Linked DNA regions of Homo sapiens: all the other regions are linked to region 5. Evidence: promoter capture Hi-C in 16 types of primary human blood cells and fetal thymus (Javierre and others, 2016). All regions are on one chromosome and are shown on one strand. Each heading gives the region's core, a stretch centred on a gene start or on the middle of the fragment in contact. The rest is flanking DNA. Distances are from core to core; before and after follow the strand shown. Region 1 holds the start of TDP2 (tyrosyl-DNA phosphodiesterase 2). Region 2 overlaps DCDC2 (doublecortin domain containing 2). Region 3 has its middle 4.2 kb from the start of DCDC2. Region 4 overlaps MRS2 (magnesium transporter MRS2). Region 5 holds the start of CDKAL1 (CDKAL1 threonylcarbamoyladenosine tRNA methylthiotransferase).

The links. The method cuts DNA at HindIII sites, captures the fragments that hold promoters and counts their contacts. A CHiCAGO score of 5 or more calls a contact.
Region 1: the fragment with the promoter of TDP2 here is called in contact with the fragment with the promoter of CDKAL1 in region 5 in 1 of 17 cell types (fetal thymus); the score reaches 6.6 in fetal thymus.
Region 2: a fragment that was not itself captured here is called in contact with the fragment with the promoter of CDKAL1 in region 5 in 1 of 17 cell types (endothelial precursors); the score reaches 6.8 in endothelial precursors.
Region 3: a contact is called between a fragment that was not itself captured here and the fragment with the promoter of CDKAL1 in region 5, in 1 of 17 cell types (fetal thymus). The highest score is 5.4, in fetal thymus.
Region 4: a fragment that was not itself captured here is called in contact with the fragment with the promoter of CDKAL1 in region 5 in 2 of 17 cell types (M0 macrophages and non-activated CD4 T cells); the score reaches 8.5 in M0 macrophages.

Annotation. Positions count from the first base shown.
Region 1 is chr6:24,664,117-24,668,339 of GRCh38, forward strand. It overlaps TDP2 (tyrosyl-DNA phosphodiesterase 2), which reads right to left and starts at 2,783. Exons shown (of 7, transcript NM_016614.3): 1 at 2,582-2,783; 2 at 2,410-2,495. The coding sequence starts at 2,746. ACOT13 (acyl-CoA thioesterase 13) reads left to right here and starts at 2,961. Exons shown (of 3, transcript NM_018473.4): 1 at 2,961-3,228. The coding sequence starts at 3,148. RefSeq lists enhancers at 1,829-2,501, 2,502-3,173, 2,705-2,999. The HindIII fragment of the contact is 8,130 bases long and covers 1,691-4,223 here.
Region 2 is chr6:24,267,332-24,271,507 of GRCh38, forward strand. All of the region lies in intron 7 of DCDC2 (doublecortin domain containing 2), which reads right to left. Among named protein-coding and RNA genes, the nearest start is that of KAAG1, 87 kb to the right of the region's middle. The HindIII fragment of the contact is 285 bases long and covers 2,712-2,996 here.
Region 3 is chr6:24,360,149-24,364,299 of GRCh38, forward strand. It overlaps a transcript of DCDC2 not described here. Among named protein-coding and RNA genes, the nearest start is that of DCDC2, 4.2 kb to the left of the region's middle. RefSeq lists enhancers at 1-224, 58-147. The HindIII fragment of the contact is 4,058 bases long and covers 274-4,151 here.
Region 4 is chr6:24,406,701-24,411,289 of GRCh38, forward strand. MRS2 (magnesium transporter MRS2) reads left to right here. Exons shown (of 11, transcript NM_020662.4): 3 at 1,708-1,744; 4 at 2,761-2,873. Among named protein-coding and RNA genes, the nearest start is that of MRS2, 6.1 kb to the left of the region's middle. The HindIII fragment of the contact is 1,787 bases long and covers 577-2,363 here.
Region 5 is chr6:20,531,944-20,535,978 of GRCh38, forward strand. It overlaps CDKAL1 (CDKAL1 threonylcarbamoyladenosine tRNA methylthiotransferase), which reads left to right and starts at 2,514. Exons shown (of 16, transcript NM_017774.3): 1 at 2,514-2,631; 2 at 3,408-3,451. RefSeq lists enhancers at 2,443-2,602, 2,633-2,712. The HindIII fragment of the contact is 2,844 bases long and covers 2,333-4,035 here.

The DNA.
Region 1 (4,223 bases), core at 1,533-4,032, 4.1 Mb after region 5:
GCCAGTGCTCCTCAATTTTAAATCACCTGGAGATCTTGTCAAAATACAGATTCTGATTCAGTAGGTCTGGGTGAGACCTAAGATTCTGCATGTCTAACAAATTCCCGAGTAGCAGTGGCACGCTGCTGGTCCAGAGTCCACACTCTAAATAACAAGGCTCTGGGACACGGGCTTTCAATGCTGGCTCTGCATTAGAATTACCTGCACAGCTAATAAAAAAAAAAAAAAAAGCCAATAAGGAATAATGGGCCCCACTCAAGACTAATGAAATTAGAATCTCTGGTTTTTTTTTTAAATTCCCCAGATAATTCCAATATGCAGCTAAGATTCAGCATAGCTGTTTTAAGAGGATTTCCCTTGTCTCTCATCAGAGACACTGAAGATAGATTCTAATGTAGGGGACTAAATCACTTTAGTGTTCAATTTCAATTTTTGTTGATATCCCAGGAATTCACTCCAGAATTGAGATTCCTGCGCCATTCATTTAAGACAGCCAATGCCCTTGCTCAGCAGGGTTGAGTTTTTCTGGTCATAAAATCTTCCAATCAATTTTTTTTTCCCTTTCATTTTTGCTAAAGCCAACATCAAAAATCTAATCAGGTCACAGGCCTTAGAAACACGCTGAAGTTTGCCCCTTCCCCATTTTTCTCTCTTGAGCAAACTAAACTTTAAAACCTCACTCTCATTCATACTTGACCTGAGTTCTGAGAGACAAGAGACCACAGCCTAATCAACACCTTTGCTTGTTTTTGCCAATTTACCATTCCGGGGTAAGAGAATCCTAATAGCCATGACACCATTGATCAGCTTGATCCGCATCTTTTCTGAGGGCCTATTACAGGAAATCCACTTATTTTGTTACTATTTATTGGTTACAATATAGTCTGTTGCAACCAACAGACATTAACTCAGGTTGGTTTGACCAAAACAGGAGAATTTATAAGGAAACAAACATGTCACAGAGCCTGGTACAGAAATACAGCCATGTTTAAGGAAGGGCAGTTAAGGGCTTTCTCTCAATCCTACACTTCAACTTCCCTCTGCTTCATTGTCTCTCTGCAGACCTCTGTTCTCAGCTTCTCTGTACACAAAAAAAGATATGTATGAATCCTCACAGGTGCTAAGTTAACATGTTACAGTTCCAGCTCCATAGGAAGACTCAGACTTGACTCTCTTGGTCCTAATTCTGAAACCAAGGAGAGGATCTGACTGGCCAGTTTGAGCTAGGCAAACACCTCCTAGTCCAACTTGCTCTGGTTAGTAAAACGGGAGCCAGAGACAAATCACTGTGGGTGAGTAAACAATTCCCCAACAAGAGGCAAGACAGAGAAAGGAACCTAAAGAAAATATCTTATCACATCTGTAAGCCAGTGTAGCTGAAAAGACCAAAGGGAAAATAAAGTCTCCACTATGAACAGTCAATTTTACAGGTTGTACATATAGCTGGGAGAATTTTATACATTCAGTAAATATTTATTGGGAGCTTATTATGTGTCAAATGTTGTGTCAGACTTTGGGAAATTAACAATGTACAAAACAGATACTCCTTACTAGATGTGCAGTCTAGTAGGAGACATAAAATAATGAACAGCAATTATAATACGGACTAAGGTATTGTAACAGGGGTCATGCAGGATGCTATAAGAGTACCTAAAAGGGGACTCTTACCCAGACTTAGGACATCAGGAAAAGCTTCCTAGAGATAAATCATGTCTCAGCTTGGGGCTTTAAGACAAATATTAGCAAGGAAGGGAAAAGAAAAAAATTCCAGGCACAGGTAATAAAGATCTTTACGAAGTTTCAAAGACAGGAGAAAATGACCCGTTGGAAAAAAGTAAAAGTTTGATAGGCCTGGAACCTGGAAAGGCAGGTTCTAAGTTATGGAGCCAAATAGTAGAGGGCCTTGTAAGGCAGCTACACTTTTTAAGTGCAGGAACTGGAGAGGGGCACTGAAATAACAGGAGTAGGTGTGCATTAAAAAAAAATAACAACAACAACAAACCTGTTATTCTGGCCGGTCAGCCTAGGGCCTAGAATAAATAAACAATACAGGAAGCAAGGAGACTTCCAAGTTGCCATTTTTCGATAGAAGGTTTAGCCTTCGTTCATTTGTTTCAAACCTCTCGCTTACTTATTTCCTTTCATTTGAGTTAAACATTACATTTCCATCTTTTCCTCCCTGGACCCCAAATCACGTTCGAAGCGACAGTCTGGTGCAGTGTTAGATCCGCTGCTGGGGCGCAACTCCGCGCAGCAGCAGCAACGCAAGCCCTGCTCCTCTGGCTACGCAGCTTGGAGATCTGCCTCAGCATCGTCCGCCCAGCTCCACGGCAGGTCCCAGGACGCGCAGGGCTACCTGGTATCAAACTGCCTCCGTGCGGACTGGCTCCCGCTCCCCTCATCACTTACTAGGTCTTGGGCTCAGAGATGGTTTCAGGTCGGCGTTCCAAGGCGCTCTCCTCCACCGGAGGCTCGAAGTAGGAGTTCAGAGCCCTCTGAAAAACAAAGGCACAAGGGATGAGGTTTGTGCGCTCCACCGACCTAGGTAATGGAGCCGGAAGCGAGGACAGCGAAAGCGTACTTCCATCTCCCAGTCGTTCTCGGCCAGGAAGCACTGAGCCACTGCGGCATCGCAGCTTGCGACCGAGGCAAACTCCACACACAGAAGTCGCCGCTTTTTCACCTCAGGCTCGCCCTCTTCCTCCGCCGCCTCCCTCCCGCCCTCCAGGCAACTCCCCAACTCCATCTTCCTGCCGCCTCTGCACCGCCCCTTTAAGCGGAACAGGAGGCCAACGCGCGGCTCTGCGCAGGCGCCTGTGTCATGGCGCTCCCGCATCAACCGCCCGGCGGGGAAATGCGCTGCTCTCGGAAAACTGGTGCAGCTGCGCCGCAAGGGAGCCGCCGGGGCGGTGGGTGCGAAGCGCGCATGCGCGCTTCGTCACAAGGGTGCGAGGAAAGTCAGTGAGCAAATCGCGGACCACCGGGGCTGCCAGCTCGCCTGACTCCCGGCCTCTTGCGCTCCTAGGGGCGGAGAAGGGTGCGGGCTCTTCGCCCTTTGTGTCCTCCTTCTTTCACTAACTTCTGGACTTTCCAGCTCTTCCGAAGTTCGTTCTTGCGCAAAGCCCAAAGGCTGGAAAACCGTCCACGATGACCAGCATGACTCAGTCTCTGCGGGAGGTGATAAAGGCCATGACCAAGGCTCGCAATTTTGAGAGAGTTTTGGGAAAGGTATGGGAAAGGTAGGGGAGAAGCCGTGGCTTCTAATGAAGGAAAAGAAAGCACCGTGCTTGGTGCCGTTGTGAGCTTTGAATAATTATCTCTTGTTAGGTTGTGTTCTAGTACGCCTGTAAATTCACCTTAGTAATAATGATTATTACTTTAATGGAGCCCCTAAATATGCTGGGTCGAACGCGTAAGTTCTCTATCTAAACATAGATAAGTATGGTTATGACTCGTGGAGACAGTTCCAAGGCTGGGAGGGACTTTGGAGTTTGATCCTTCAACCAACAAACGTCTGCATTGCTCCAGAGAAGAGTAAGAGAAACCTCTGCATTTAAGGCACATTACAGTCTAATTCTCTAGGCTCTAGAAGATTAGAAGATAAATAATTGCAATAAGGTACAAAAGCCAAGTGCTTGGTAGAGTGGTGAACGAAGGGAGAAGTTGTTCCTCTGTAGTGGTTTGGGAAATTTCTCAAAGGCACCCAACTCCTGAAGAAGTAAGTTAGCCCTTGGAGGAAGACTGAGTGCTTTTCTGAGACCAGCACTCACAAAGCCCGAAGGTGTTTGTTTGTTTTTGTTTTTTTAGGATGAGGTTTCGCCCTTGTTGCCTAGGCTGGAGTGCAATGGCGCGATCTCGGCTCACTGCAACCTCCACCTCCCTGGTTCAAACAATTCTCCTGCCTCACTCAGCCTCCCGAGTGGCTGGGATTACAGGCATGCGCCACCATGCCCAGCTAATATTGTACTTTTAGTAGAGACAGGGTTTCTCCATGTTGGTCAGGCTGCTCTCGAACTCCCGACCTCAGGTGAAACGCCTGCCTCCGCCTCCCAAAGTGCTGGGATTACTGGTGTGAGCCGCCACGCCAGACCTTGAAGGTGTTTGTTGTTGTTGTTGTTTTGAGATGGAGTCTTGCTCTGTTGCCCATGCGGGAGTGCAGTGACACGATCTCGGCTCACTGCAACCTCCGCCTCCTGGGTTCAAGTGATTCTCATGCCTCAGCC
Region 2 (4,176 bases), core at 1,604-4,103, 3.7 Mb after region 5:
AAATGCTTGAGGTTATAGATACCCCATTTACTCTAACGTGATTATTATGAATTATATGCCTGTATCGAAATATCTCATGTATCCCATAAATATATATACCTACTATGTGCCCATGAAAATTAAAAATAAAACAAAACAAAAATTCTATGTCCATCCAAACTGAAAGTTAAATGTAAAAGTATGAAAATATTTTCAGACTTGCTGGGTCTCAAAAAATAATGACCATTTCTCTAGCCATTCTCCAGAAATTACTGGAGGATATGTCCTGCCAAAATGGAGTCAACCAAGAAATAAGTATACAAAAGCCCCTGGAAATGGGATCTCCACAGAAAAGACACAAAAGCAATTTTCATAATGACAGTAAGGGAAAATGCAAGATAACATCTGTGCCACAAGCCAAGAGAACAACCTTTGCAGGCTGGAACCAAAGGTCTGAGGACTCCACAAGGGAACCCTTGCACTGTACACTTAAAGTGCTCAGTCTAGTCCCTGGCACAGAGTAAGCACCCAGAAAATGTCCACTGTCCATGCTAGCTACTGATCTGATCAGAATCACACAAAAAGATGTCTGACTTAATTTTCATCAGAAATTCCCCAAGCCCTACAATGATCAGGTAATGTGTGGAAGCAGTATGCCTATTTGAGTACCCCAACGCTTCTCAAGTTGTGCTCTAAAGAACAATAATCCCACCAGATGCTCCTCAGTAATAGGGATCCAAAGCAAGTAAAAGCGTGGAATACGTCCATACTAAAGGCTCTGAGAAATCCTGTAGCAGAGACAATGACTTAACTTTGTATCATCCAACATTTCCCAAATTTGTAGTTGAACATGAAACTCATTACCAGAAGCATATATTAAAAGTACATGAAATTGGCCAGGCGCGGTGACTCACGCCTGTAATTCCGGCACTTTGGGAGGCTGAGGCAGATGGATCAGCTGAGATCAGAAGTTCGAGACCAGCCTAGCCAACATGGCGAAGTCCCATCTCTACTAAAAATACAAAAATTAGCTGGATGTGGTGGCGCATGCCTGTAATCCCAGCTACTCAGGAAGCTAAGGCACGATAATTGCTTGAACCTGGGAGGCAGAGGTTGCAGTAAGCTGAGATCAGGCCATTGCACTACAGCCTGGGTGACAGAGTCAGACTCTGTCTCAAAAGAAACAAACAAACATACAAAAAGTGCGTGAAACTACTGCTCAATGGAACCCAACTTAGGAAATGACAGTAAACGCCCTGGGTAAGAGCCTTCAGCTTAACACCATCCAGAAGCTCTTGTCGCCCAGGTTGGAATACAGTGGTGCAATCTCAGCTCACTGCAACCCCTGCCTCCTGGGTTCAAGCAATTCTCATGCCTTAGCCTCCCAAGTAGCTGAGACTACAGGCATGCGACACTATGCCCGGCTAATTTTTGTATTTTTAGTAGAGACAGGGTTTCACCATGCTGGCCAGGCTGGTCTTGAACCCCCGACCTCAGGTGATCCACCCATCTCGGCCTCCCAAAGTGCTGGGATTACAGGCATGAGCCACTGTGCCAGGCCACTTTATTATGTAATTTTAAAGGAAATAAAATCTTGCCCAGTTTCAAAGAAACAATTTGGTATTATCATCCAATTGTATAAAATAAGAATAAATGGGTAGCTTTAAACCTACAAAGCTCAAAGGTATTTTACAGATATTTTATCTTTATCTCCACTGTGATAGCACACTGCATGGTGATTTGCAATAAAGGTTATATCTTATTTTGAAAATAACTAGGGCAATAGAGAAGAATAAAAATAGAGTTCATATACAAAATAGGCCACAGACTACAAAGGAGTCCCAGGGTATCACATAAGTGAGGAAATACTCCTTCCCTGTCTCATAGTGCCAAGCAGTATTTAGTAATTGTCCCAGACATTGGACTAAATACATTTAAGTAGAAATGGCCTATGTTCTTTAGTAGTGTGCTGGTACTTTCTATAAGGACAAAATTAATACAGAGGTCTAAGAAATGACTCAATACCCAGAAGGAAAAAATGTCAATGCTTGCAACATAATTTGGCATTTAGGGATAGTGAATAAAGTCTGGTCATTGAAAGGGAAAAGGTAAATTGCATCTACTTAACCAAGGAAAATTTATTGATAAAGATATAATTATGACTATTGGAAGAAAATGTGTAAGTACTGAGCAATTAGAACAAAGAAGAGAAAATGAAATACTCTGGTGATTAGCAAGGGGTGGAGTACATGGTAGGGACTCAATAAATGTTCACTGAAAAATGAAAGTAGTGACCTAGGAAAGGGGATGGGGTTCCTAAGTCTAGAAAGTCATGAAACATGGGGAAGGAAATTCAGACACAGAGAAAGGCTTGGGTTGCAGAGCTTAAGTCCTAGAATGTTTAAGTAACTGTTTTAAAAAAGGGGATTTGATCATTTGATACAGAAACTAGAGGTCAGCCCCCAAAATATCTACCTTCTTCAAGGTCCCTAAACCCTAGAAAAGAGGGTCTAAATGCTGAAGGCAGTCCCCAGCTAAGATGTGTCAAAATAGAGAAGACCCATTATTACATCAGACTGCTAAAGAGAAAAACGGCTTGTTAGTAATGACTAACTCCGACCACCTAGAAAATAGAAGGGATGAAAATCAATCATCCCCATTTAAAAAGTTAATATGAAATAGTGGAGAGTAGAAGAAGAAACAAACAGGAACTCCCCAAAATCTCCCAGCTAAGCTTCAGGGTCTGCTGTGATACATCAACATTTTTATCACTGAAGGAAGACAGGTCAAAACACACACACGAGAGCTTCCCTCACTTGTCCCTCCACCTCCCCTTTCAAACAGTCACACAGGCACATCCACCTCTTAACCAGCAGCTATGTGTCAGTCTGGCAATTTCCAGAAATCACTAACCATTGATAGATCTTTGACTCTGGGCAAACTGGTTTCTCCTCTTTTCCCCCTCATTCACTAAGCTAGGAAAATGCTGTTTATCCATTCTAAGTATTTGTAAATGAAGCTTACAAAATATCAGATTAGAATGCACCATCAAGATGTTCTAAAGCATGGGTATCAGGAGTGTGCCATTACTCAATGCTTACAGTTTGCAGCCTTTAATTTCAATTGTCACCATAATATAGGTATAATTGACCTACATGCACACACACACATATATATCAACAAATACTGACCCTGTGCTGACTACTCTGTGCGGAATGCTCTGAACATTTATCTGTGTCCTTTACATGTGACCTATGGTCCAGGATCTGCTGATATTCTAAAGGACCGGGCCCTTTCCAGGTTTTATATCACCCCAGGCCTGACAAGGAAAACAGGGAGTTGAAGAGGGAGAAAGGGTAATAAACCCTATGGCTACATCTTCCTCCTCCCTCCACCCTGTCACCCTCTATGATAGGCATCTCACCAACATTCATGACATCAGACACCTCCCTAACCAAGCCCCCATGTGGCCCTTCCTCAGATTCCAGGATGAAATGCTCAGAGTGACCCAATTTCAGCTTCTTTCAGAAAAGCAGATAAATCATGCTTCAGTCTTTGGTATGCCAGAAACTCACCACTGGGGCGGATGCATATTTTATCTGTAGTAAGCTACAGAAAGGTTCAGACCTGGCAGGGCACAGTGGCTTACACCTGTAATCCCAGCACATTGGGAGGCCAAGGCAGGCAGATCACTTGAGCTTAGGAGTTTGAGACCAGCCTGGGCAACATGGTGAAACCCCGTCTCTATAAAAATACAAAAATTAGCCTTGTGTGGTGGCACCTGCCTGTAGTCCCAGCTACGTGGGAGGATCACTTGAGCCCAGGAGGTCAAGGCTGCAGTGAGCCAAGATGGTGCCACTGTACTCCAGCCTGGGTGACAGAGTGAGACACTCCCTCAAAAAAAAAAAAAAAAAAGAGAGAGAGAGAGAGAAAGAAAGAAAAAAAAGAAAAAAAGAGAAAGGTTCAACCTGACCTTGCAGGCAGCAGAATTAAGAAAAGGCTGTGAAACTTGTCAGAGCCCCTGGTAAGGCAAGAAGCAAAGAGGCCCTGCTTAGAAGTAATGGGTAGCATCTATGAAAAGGGAGGCAGGCAAGCCAAACTCTGGAGCTGGGGAAGAAATAAAGATGTGACAATCCCAAACTAATCCTCCTGCAGAGGATCACGCTAATAGAAGAACCTCCGCCCACACCTCAGTGT
Region 3 (4,151 bases), core at 1,053-3,552, 3.8 Mb after region 5:
GTTTCCATAGCAACCGCAGCCTCGCGCGGGGAGCGAGTCAGTGAACCAGGCCTGGCTTGCGCCTGGCTCCTTGGGATATGCTGGCTGCGTGGGGCAGAGGCGGAAGAACAGGGGTTTGGAGGAAGAGGGAGAAACAGGTGACATGATCATGCGCTCATTCATCATGCGCTCATTCAGTAAATGGACGCCTGCTGTGTGCAAGGCCCTGTGCTAGTTGGGGCCACGGCGGTGAAAAGGAAAACCTACAAAATTTTGAGTGCCTACCCTGTGCCAAGCTTTACGCCAGGGAAAGGATTTTTTCACTGCCGCAAGAAGGCTAAATGTCTGACTGGCTGTCCAAGAGCCCACATCTGTGCTATTTGTGTAGATTGTTAGCTCTGTCTGAGGAATAACAGGGAGAGGAGTTGTGAGAATAGTAACAGCCCCAGTAAAGAGTCGCTTTGTCCAGTCCAGTCTGGGACATACATATTGTGGCACCAGGAAAATGTTTAAAGAGTTGAAATTTTGCAGCTCATCTCTGCCAGTGTTTCCTTCATTCCTCCTAAGACTTTTCTACCATGTGTCATGTCCAAATTACTGGGTGTTCCTAACTCATCATGTACGAATAAAAAGAACTGCCATTAATTGAACACTATAACCATGGACCAGGCATTATGTAAGGCACTTTATGTAGATTATCTAATATTCACAATAACCTTCAGAGGTAAATATTATTCTTTCCTCAGATGAGGAAACTGAAGGGTAGAGAAATCAAAGACATTTACCTCAGGTCACACACACAGGAATTCAAACCCATTCTAAGGATTAGAAAACGAAAGAGAGAGAGAGAGTTCAAACCCAGTTCTGTCTTATTCCACAAGCTCCATAACCAGTCATATCACTGTGAAAGATGAATGTGTGGGACATTGCAATCTGGAGAGAAACTTTTTTTTTCCTTCGAGATTTCTGTTCTGAAGAAATATTTTTATTAAAGCCATGTAATACATTAATGCTTTGAAAGTTAACAGTTTTCAAACGCAGGAACAAAAAACCAAATACCCGCATGTTCTCACATATAAGTAGGAGTTAAATGAGGAGAACTCACGGACACAAAGAAGGGAACAACAGATACTGGGGCCTACTTGAGGGTGGAGCGTGGGAGGAGGGAGAGGAGCAGAAAAAATAACTGTTGAGTATCAGGCTTAGTACCTGGGTGATGAAATAATCTGTACAACAAACCTCCGTGACACGAGTTACCTATATAACAAATCTGCACATGTACCCCTGAACCTAAAATGAAAGTTAAAAAAAAAAAAAGTTAACAAATTTCAAAAGAAGGCCAAAGAGAACAATACAGGGAGGAAATAGACAAGGGAAATTTTGTGAGCTGCTTGTGGAGAATGCACAGGTTGAGGGATGGATGGGGAAAATACCTGTGAAAATGTGCTACCACATAGGTGAGTAAGACAGAATACTTGTTATGTGGAAATGGAAGGCAATCAATTAAGTAGCCCCCTCCCCAAACAACCTAAAATTCCCTATCATCTATATTAGCCCAGTGTAAAATGAAAATGTGGCCTCTTATTCAAAAATTAAGAATTTTATGTTAGCAACAGCAGAGCATTAAACCAATCATGGGGTCCTTCTTGATGTGGGGACCCTGACGCCAGCCCATGAAGCTGCCCGCATCAAGTCTATGCCTCCCACTGCGGTATCTCCAACCCGGATGTGTCTCCTGAGCTTAGATTCATTTATCCAGATGTCTCTTGGATATGATGTGGTGATAAGTGTTTAACTGCTGGCTTTTAGGAGGGAAGAGAAGGCCTTAATTCATAGCATTTGCCAATCTCTGTAGTTTACTCCAAATATGGCCAATTTCCAGATGCCAGTCTAACATCACTGAAGCCATGAAATGTGCAGTAGCAAGTCATTGTATGGTATTTCCACCATGCAGGCACAGCAGACTTGTGTAACTTTAAGAGCACAGATAGTAGTAAAATGTAGATGGAGATGAGTTTTGAGTATTTATTATCTTTGTTTTCAATGTAATTTATTTAATTGTATATTTATACAATTATTTTTTATTTAATTGCATATTTATACAATTTTTATTTAATTGTATATTTATACAATTATTTTTTATTTAATTGTATGTTTATACAATTATTTTTTATTTAATTGTATGTTGATACAATTATTTTTTATTTAATTGTATGTTGATACAATTATTTTTTATTTAATTGTATGTTTATACAATTATTTTTTATTTAATTGTATATTTATACAATTATTTTTTATTTAATTGTATATTTATACAATTATTTTTTATTTAATTGTATATTTATACAATTTTTTTATTTAATTGTATATTTATACAATTATTTTTTATTTAATTGTATATTTATACAATTATTTTTTATTTAATCGTATATTTATAAAATTACTTTTTAACAATGCCCATGTTTACAATTCCTGAGAATTTAACAGTTGCCTCACACGCCAGAACAAGGCAGTTCCAGGCACACAATTCTCCTGACAGCTTCTCTAGACCATCTAAAAGGCAGCCTAGACTCGAAACGTTCACGGGATCTCAAGTTTTCCTCAAAATCACTTTTCCTATGTTTCCTGTCTCCACAAATGGACCCTCATCTACTCATTTGCTCAAAGCTAGAACATATACATTTCTCTTCTTCACAGAACACATTTAACTGTGGCAGAGGAACAACAAAAACAGTCAGATATTTGCAATCTCTCTCCCTGCTCCAGATGCTTGCTGAATTGGTTTTGGAGCTCTTCTCTCTTGTGCAAAGTCCGAACACTGAGCAAAGTGAGAAGGCTTTAAGAAGCCAGAAAGGTTAGATAAACCCTGATCACGAAGAGCTGAGGTAGAATGAGGAGCGGAATGCTAAGGAATGAGGAGCTTCAGATGGATGCAAGGGAATGTTTGAGAACACACATAGGAAAGGAGGGGAGAGTTTTTGTATTTTAGCTTCTTCCTAAGTATATGAAAGGCATTGAGAATGAGAGAGATGGCCAAAGAAGATTCTTAAAGAAGTGTTGCTGTGCATTAAAAATAATACCACCAGCAGGGCACGGTGGCTCAAGCCTGTAATCCCAGCACTTTGAGATGCTGAGGCAGGTGGATTGCTTGAGCCCAGCAGTTTGAGACCAGCCTGGCCAACATGGCAAAACCCCATCTCTAAAAAAACAAAAAACTAAAAAAATTATCAGGGCATAGTGGCATGCTCCTGTAGTCCCAGCTACTCAGGAGACTGAGGTGGGAGAATCATCAGAGCCTGGGAAGTTGAGGCTGCAGTGAGCCATGCTCATGCCGTTACACTGCAGCCTGGGTAACAGAATAAGACCCTGTCTCAAAAAATCAAAAAGAAAAATAATAATACCAACAAGGCATTTGCTGTTTCCTCAAGAGCCTAGATCTCTGAAATGCTTTCAATTATATATTTCTGCTTAAGCAATATTTATTTTGATGTAATACTGTGCTAAAACCAGACCACATTGCACCCTAGGTTTATAAGGGCTCTTCAACTAATCACCAAGTTCTATCAATTCTATCTCTCAAATATTTTTTAAATCCATCCACTTATCTCCAAACCCATTTCCACATTTTGAATTCAAGGCATCATCATCCCCTAAGAGGTAACCCTGTCTCCAGTTTGCTTCCCTATTATCCATTCTCCACAGAACAGTCATCCTGAAAGGTCGCTGAAAACACAGATCTATCCATTTCACTTTCCAGCTTAAAATTCTTCAAATCCTTATCATTTCTCTTACAGTGAAATCCAATATCATCAACTTTGATGACAAAGCCATAAATATACTACTCTTGTTGCTTTAGTTTCCATCTCTTCTCACGCAAATCTTCCTATGGCTCTCCAAAGTGAAGACTTGTACCATCGCTTCCTTTAAAATCCCTTTGGATGTACTTTACAGCCCCTTATCCCCCCATTCCTATTTATTTGGCTCCTTCCAACTCCCTCTATAGATCAAGTTCCAACTTAAATGTCAGTTCCCCAGGAAATCTTCTCTACCCCACTCCCCAGATCAGGATAAACCCCCAACATATTACATATTTTTTCTCTATAGGTTTTATCAATTATAAGTATAAATTTTTAAATGTTTATTTATTTTTAAAAGATGGGATCTCACTATGT
Region 4 (4,589 bases), core at 220-2,719, 3.9 Mb after region 5:
GGAGGTGGAGGTTGCAGTGAGCCAAGATTGCACCACTGCACTCCAGCCTGGGCAACAGAGCAAGACTCTGTCTCAAAAAAAGAATACAAAGTCAAACGTGAAATACTGAAAGTTAGTTCTTTGCAGGTGAAATAATTGCAAAGAACACTTAAGAAATTCATAAAGCTATGGAATCTGAGAAAGAAAAATTTAATTTGTGCTGTTTGAAATAGTTTAGAAAGTGAGCTGGTTACAAAGTAAATATTTTTTTCTTTATAATTTGTATGATTTAAAAAATTTTTTTAAGTTCCATTAAAGAAAAAAAGGGTACATATAAATATTGAGATGCAAAAATATTCAGCATATGTTGCTAATTTGGAAGGAGGGAGACTGCAAAGCAGTATGTATAAGTATGTTTTATTAGGAAAATGTTTGGAAGGATATTCAGTGAAATATTGACATGGTTTTCTCTAAAATTTGTCATTTCAGGTGATTAATATAGTTTTATGTTACGTATATTTATTTTCAAATTTTCTGCAGTGGGTTTATGTATTTGTGAAATATAAGGCTGAAAGCTAGACTATTACACAAATATAAAGCTTTCTTTGATATAAATTTTCCTTTAATGTTCTATGGAACTTATATATTCATATTAATTTTATTTTTGCTGATGAGAAGCAAGATAAAATATATATATTGTGAGTTTTTATTGTGTGATTAACACAGCATGTATATTTCCATGGTAGTAACCCAAGACCTATATTGTACTTAAACCTGTATGTTGGAGTGTCTTTCTGAAATGTGTCTGTCGTAGTAAGTAGTACAGCTCAGCACATAGTGATTCATTAAATGTTTCACAGCTTCAAACTTGACTGTGGATAAACATCACTGAAAGATAGTCCCCTACTTTGCAGGAAATAGGTGCATTTTCTGTATCAAATCCTCTCTTCAAACTATCAGAAGGGGTTCTGTAAATCTTTATTGATTCTGCAACACCCACCAAAGAGACTTTGGCCTCATGTAGACATTTAGATTCACAAGGCGGGCCATACTTGGTCCCAGTCTACTCAGAAGGATAAGGGACAGGAGAAACAACAGGGTAGTGTTAGGTGTTTCCTCTTCAAAAGAAGTCTTTGCAGCCATCCAGGGGCTTCTCTGGTCCTCTGAGTGATCGCTCAGTGACAAGGAGATAAGATTCTCAAAGGTGGATGTGAGATTCATCTTGGCTCGAATCCCCATGCCCCGTAGTGACAGTATCCCTTGTAACCATCGCAGGGGCACAGTGTCCAGGATTCTGGCTGGGAACATGGCCACAAGAGCCACCACAATCAGGAAAGGGCAAAGAGAGCTATTGCTTTTCACCTGATAACTGTAATTTGTTCGTCTTCCCAGTCCAGTGCAGTCTACCAGTCAATGGTCATTTTTACCATAAGGATTGTTACCTAGTAACAACACAACTGATACTCCTTTATCAACTTTCTAGAGGAACCAAGATAGAAAGTTAAACCCAGGTCTGATTTTTCCTATCAAAGGAAAAAAGGATTTTAAAAAAACCCTTAACTCATAACTGGATTTAATCTAAAGAAGGTCAGTAATGGTTTATATTTGCATTTCAACATTTTGGGGATATTACTTACAATACCATAAATTCTTAACTAAATTAGCAATACCATAAGTAGCATTCTAATTTGAAAGAAAATCATAATTTGTTTTATTCTCTATTTTCAGACAAAATTTGACAAACAGGGAAACGTTACTTCTTTTGGTGAGTGATTAGCATTCTAAATCATTTTTTAAACATTTAATGAGTGAATCTGATAGAAATCAAGAAATTGTAGTATTTTGAGTAAAATATTCTTTGCATATACAGGTGTGTTGAAAGAGATCTTTCTTCAGCATTTGTCCATCAGTCTTAATTGGAGCTGGCAATACTCAGACTGTGTGTATTCTCCCAGAATTGTTTTCTTCTAGCAGGAGCCACTTTTTGCTCTAACAGGCTATTGAAGGAATATTTGGGAGAGCAGAGGCTGGTGTAGAACTGGAGCCCAGAGACACACTCTTTTTCTCTTTTGTCTCTCTTGTTGGCGTCCCTTTCACTGCCCTCATTCATTCTCCTGAAGCATGTTTAAGGCAGAGTCACATAATACCACTGACATTGCAGTGGGTGACAAAAGATGAACAGGGCCATGTCACTGCATGGCAGCCACATGGAACTCTGCTGCTGATGGCTCTCTGTGGACAGCTACTTTAAAAAGTGAGACTAGGCATTACTTTACAGTGTGACTTCAGATGTGAGTTTCACATCTCCCTTGAGAATGAATCAGTCTCAGGTAATAAATTCAGCTTTTCTCATTTTTGTATTAGTCTAAGAACAAAGAAAATCAAGCTTATCTGTTCACATATATAAAATACTGAAGATGATGTTGTAGTAAAAATAGAAAATATAGTTGTGTACAGTTTATATTTAAGAGAGATAACCTGTCTCTAGAGCTGGACATTTATAGGTTCTAATGATGCATAGTTGTGGTTTCTGTATTAGTCTCAAGGGTCTTCTAAGTAGTGAGAAAGTTATGAGGTATAGATAAGAAAATCATTAGTTTGACTCTATTTAGCCCGAGTATGTTTTCTAGGTAAAAATGGATATTAAAAGACTTAATTTTAGTTTTTGTTTCTGGTAGTAACCAAAAATTGTCTTGATGGTGGTGGGAGGACTGCTCTGATGGAAAAATCTAAGCCATTTAATGTATTTGGTTTAGCCCTCTCTGTTTATTTCTTTTATAGAAAGGAAGAAAACTGAATTATACCAAGAGTTAGGTCTTCAAGCCAGAGATTTGAGATTTCAGCATGTAATGAGTATCACAGTCAGAAACAATAGGATTATCATGAGAATGGAGGTAAAATATTTTATTTTCATCTATGTTTCTCCAATACAATCTTATAAAAGTTACCTTCTAACTATCTTGATTAGTATCTAGGTTAAAAGTAATTTTGGAATAGAAATAGCTACCTGAAACATAGGATGTTTTATAGCTTAATATGCTATTATGAGTAGAACTCATTTTATATGGATTATATGCACATGTTCAATAGGCATAACACTGCTGTGTTTTAAGTTGGAAAAGCTCTGACTGTGGTGTTCATTCTCACTGTTGGGATTTACTCTCTAGTTCTGGAAACTATAAGACAATCCTGATTTATAATAGATATATATCCAATTGTGTACAGTTACATGTAATTATAGTATAACCTGAGCTACCAAAAATGTATTCTGGCTTTCTAAATAGCACAGGAATAGACATTAAATTTTATAGCCTTAATTTTTTTTTTGAGATGGAGTTTTGCTCTTGTTGCCCAGGCTGGCACGATCTTGGCTCACTGCAACCTCCACCTCCCAGGTTCAAGCAATTCTCCTGCCTCAGCCTTCTGAGTAGCTGGGATTACAGGCATAAGCCACCAAACCCAGCTAATTTTGTATTTTTAGTAGACATGGGGTTTCTCCATGTTGGTCAGGCTGCTCTGAAACTCCCGACCTCAGGTGATCCACCTGCCTCTGCCTCCCAAAGTGCTGGGATTACAGGCATGAGCCACCGTGCCTGGCCAGTTTAAATTTTTTTAATGGAAAACTTTCTGAAATATATTGTATTTTCCCTTACCTATTCAGAGCATGCCAAATAATAATTTGACTTTCTTTAGTGATTCAGAGTTAATGTGGGTTTCAGTTATTTTGGTGGGCTAATGTTTAGGTTCAAAAATAGATGAATGGTATTGGCCCTGTAGTGGGTATGAGACTTTCTTCAAAGAGTCTTTGATGGCAGATTTTTGTTCATTTTTCTAGAACTAATCAAAATAATAAAAAATGGGCCAGTATTGGTAGCATGTGCCTTTAGTCCCAGCTACTCAGGAGGCTGAAGTGGGAGGGTCACCAGAGACCAGGAGTTTGTGACCAGCCTAAGCAACATAGCAAGATCCCATCTCTAAAAATAAATAAGTAAATAAAAAATACTTTATCAAAAATGAAGCAGTCTTCTCCCATGTGATTTTCTTCAGAAATATTCTCTACTCTTGGAATCAGTAGCTAGCATTCTTCAAAACAGTGTCTCTTTCATGGAGAGACAGACAGGTATGTGAAAAAGCAAATTCAGCAGAATGATAATTGTGTAATCTAACTGGTGGGTATATGGTGTTCACTGCAATCTTTCAACTTTTCTGTATAAAAATTTTCATGAGGCTAGGTTGTGGTGGCTCACATCTGTAATCCCAGCACTTTGGGAGGCCGAGAGGGGTGGATCACCTGAGGTCAGGAGTTCGAGACCAGCCTGACCAACATGGTGAAACCCCGTCTCTACTAAAAAATACAAAAATTAGCCAGGCATGGTGGCGGGTGCCTGTAATTCCAGCTACTCAGGAGGCTGAGGTAGGAGAATAGCTTGAACCCTGAAGGTGGAGGTTGCAGTGAGCCGAGATTGCCCCACTGCACTCCAGCCTGGGTGACAGAGCAAGACTTCCATCTCAAAAAAAAAAAAGAAAAAAAAATTCATGATAGAATGTTGGAAAAATGTAAAAATAGAAAATTATCTCTAATTTCTATATCACTGATAAAGTGGCTACCT
Region 5 (4,035 bases), core at 1,264-3,763:
CAGGCATATGCCACCACACCCAGCTAATTTTGTATTTTTAGTAGAGACAGGGTTTCACCATGTTGGTCAGTCTGGTCTTGAACTCTTGGCCTCAGGCGATCCACCCGCCTCGGCTTCCCAAAGTGCTAGGATTACAGGCGTGATCCACTGCACCCGGACTTACTGGTTGCTTTTCAAAGGTTGTACAGATACTATAAATATATTTAACCAATACTCTATTGAGGAGGAGCCGGAGAGGGTTTCCAGTCTTTTGCTATTGTAAGCAATGCTTAAAAAAATACTCTGGAACATAGGTCATTGTAAGCAATGCTTCAAAAAATACTCTGGAACATAGGTCATTGTAAGCAATGCTTCAAAAAATACTCTGGAACATAGGTCATTATGTATATTTCTGTAAGATAAATTCCTAGAGGTAGGGTTACTGACTTCAAAGGATTTAGACTAAAGGTGCTTAAAGAGAGAGGTTTCACCTGTTAGTTAGTTTTTGTAGCCAAAACTTGAAAACATCCTTTCTTCCTCTTTTTTCGTACCTATCAATCACCAAGTCTTGCTGCTGTTACCTCCTCAATTTGTTTAAATCTGTCCTTCCTTCCCATTCCTCCCAGCCAACAACTCAATTTAGGCTTTTACTATTTCTTCATGTCTGAAATATCGTCCTCAAACCCATTGTCCTGAGAGAATAATCTGCTCGAACACATTCATGTTGCCTACTACATACATCCAGGATTAAGTCTAATGCCTTTGAATACACAAGGTTCACCTTGATCTAGTCCCTGTGCTTCCCTTTCTCTGGTAGACTTCTCCCATCACCAGCTTCACTCTCTTTGCTTTTACACTGTGGAATAATTCATCATTTCAGGCCTCCTTGCTTTTGCTCTGGCTGACTCTCCAGCTTGGAATGCCTTCATCCATTTCCCTTACTTCACCTTTGTGTTCCTGTGCATTCATCTTTCATAGTGATTGCTATTCTCTACTGAAATGAATTTTTTCAAAATAGCCTGCAATTGCAATAGGCAGTACTTTTTTTCTTTCTTTTTAGCTCTAGCATCTATCACAGTGCTTGTGGTCATGGGGTACATACTCAGTAAAATATCTTTTACTGAACTCAACTAGATCTTGGGGGAAAAGGGGTGGAGTCATTCATTCATTCATTCATTCATTCAACATATGTTTATTGAGAAGCTATAAACATAGGCACAAGGTTATGTGCTAGGTAGTGCGATTACAACCAAGAAGATAACCCAGGGCCTACTTTTGGTCTAGTGAAAGAGATGGAATTAGATGGGTATGGTGGTGTGCACCTGTAGTCCCAGCTACTTGGGAGGCTAAGGCATGAGAATCTCTTGAGGCTAGGAGGGAGAGGTTGCAGTGAGCTGTGATGGTAACACTGTACTCCAGCCTGGGTGACAGAAGAAGACCCTATCTAAAAAAAAAAAAAAAAAAAAAAAAAAAGTAGGGCAACATAAATACACAATTTTAATTTAGGTGGGTAAAGACAACAGTGGACCCCAGGGCACAGTTTAGATTATTTTATGGATATGGATAAACAGAGAAAAGGGTGGTTTTTTTTTTTTTTTTTAAATCTATTTTAGAGACTGGGTCTCACTGTGTTGCCCAGGCTGTTTTCAAACTTCTGAGCTCAAGTGATCCTCCCACATCAGCCTCTTGAGTAGATGGATGGCATTTTAATTAGATGAAATTGTACTAGGAAAGGCATTTGCAAAACAAAGTAATTGCCCCAAATCACTATGAAACCCTAAGTCAGGCATAAAACTCACGATTTCTGACCCTTCTTCATGGCCTATTGCCTCCTATTACCTTTACTTTTTCAAGTAAAGATATTCTTCTGGTAAACACATGGTCAAATACAGTGTCTTGGGTAACGAATAGTAAAGTGAGATAACATATGTAGAGAAAGCGGGTGAGAATCCGTACTCCATAAAAGTATTTTCTTTCCATAGGTGTCTGCTAAACTGCCATCTAAGTTTTCCAAAACAAAAAACAAAAACACTTGTGTGGTGCTCAATGATGTATATTAAGTGAAACCTACCAACTGACCTTTATCCTTTCCTTCCTGTTTTTTTAATATTAAAGAAGAGACCTCTTTTCACAAATGATTGAGGAGGCTAGTAAAATGCAGTGAAAAGAGCAAGTTCTTTGGGAGTCAGACAGCATCGGATCCAGCCCAGAGCGCAGCACGACTAGTAGAGTAACTTAGATTAAGTCCTTAAACTTCCAGTGTCCTCTTTTGTAAACTGGGAATAATAATAATAATAAATAAATAGTGAATAATATTTATGCAAAGTACTTAGCACAGTGTCTAACACATAAAAGCTTAGGAGAAGTTGGCTATTAAGCATTTCTAGGAACCCGAGGACTCAGGGTTGTTATTTTAGTTCTTGGAATCAAAGGAACTTGAAGCGTAGTCATTCCTAAACTAAGTTAAACCAGAACTAGCGCTTTCAGCAATGATGTAATTTGATCTCTTCGGGCCACCGTCGCTGAGCATGCGCAAATAAACGTGGCGGGACGTATGTGTCATGGCGCTCTCCATCTAAAGTCTGTGCAGCTTCCGGAGAGTGGCGGGTTGATTTTCTCACTTTGGACTGGTTTTTACTTCCCGACTTCTGGGTAAGGGTGGCCGATGGGTCCATGTGGGGCAGAGTGTGGCCACAGCTCCTTTTATGGCCAAGCCTTGTTTCTCCAGTTTCAGTTTTTCTTGGGCTGTTTGCAAATTTGTTTCGCAGTTAAAAGGGGATTTGCCAGCTGGGATGGGGGAATTGGGAGGCAGATGGGGCTTCCAGGAGCGAGGATAGGGTCGTTGGCCTCAGGTGCCGCTCTCCAGTTAGGAGTATTTTAGGCACCTCGTTCCTTATTGTCAGGTTTAACTTCATTTGTTCTCCCACTTTATACCTTAGTGAATTTGTAGATGTGACAAGGCTTTCGCAGTTATATAGCTTTCCCAGATCAGTATGTTAAGAATTTAAGCAGAAGTTATTGAGAAAAGCAGGTGTCTTGCTTTTTCACTTTTCGTTCTTCTTTGCTCATAAAACCTTTTTCTGAATCTCGGGACGACAGTTATCTTTCGGATGGAACGTGATCTGGATGTCTATCTACCTTATTGACTTAATCCTGTTTTGTAGTGGTTGGTTACTCGCACTATGCAGACGTGTTGCGGTGCTGAATACAACATTTATTACTAAAGCCAGACACTGGATCACCGTCACGGCAGATGTCAGCACACCTGTTGTAATCAGTAAGAAGTTACAAGTAGTATGGAGCATCATTAATCCTGCTGTATAAAGCAGTCTTTTATGGAGTCTGATTCCTTTTAAGTAAAGAATCCTTACAGTGGTTTTGTGAACTTTTTGGGTGCTTACTTTTCCTAATCAATTTTTATTTTCCAGACTCATCTTTCAAGAGGACTTTAGACTAATTGCAGATAATTAAGGTACTGATTTATTTTAAACCTTTTATGTTTGAGTGCTGTGCGTATTTCTGCATGTTAGAAAATGCAGAGAGGTAGCCTAATGTTTTAGCTATTTGCCACTATCATGTTATGGAAACATTGTGCTTTACATAGCATTAAATCGAAGAGATATTTTCATTTATTTTACTTAACCTTTCATTTTCATTCACCAGCATTGACCATGTCCACTTTTTTGAGATGCCCTTTTCATTTGCCTTCCATGGCCCATGGATTTTTTTCCTTGTCTGGTGGCTGCTTCTTGGAATCCATTATAAGCTGATTTTCCTTTATCTGGCAGTTAAATTTGGAGTCTCTCAAGTCGTGGTCTTGTACCTTCTCCTACCTCTGTTCTCTTTTTCTTCCCCTCTGGGTGATGTAATCCACATGCCTGTCAACAGTTATTTGTCTTTTTGATTCTACCCATCCTAATGGGTATGAAGTGGTGTATTATTGTGGTTTGGATTTCCATTTCCCTGATGGCTCATGATGTTGACATCTTTTCATGTGCTTATCAGCCATTTGTATGTGTGTGTTTTTGAGACACGGCTTCCCTATGCCACCCAGGC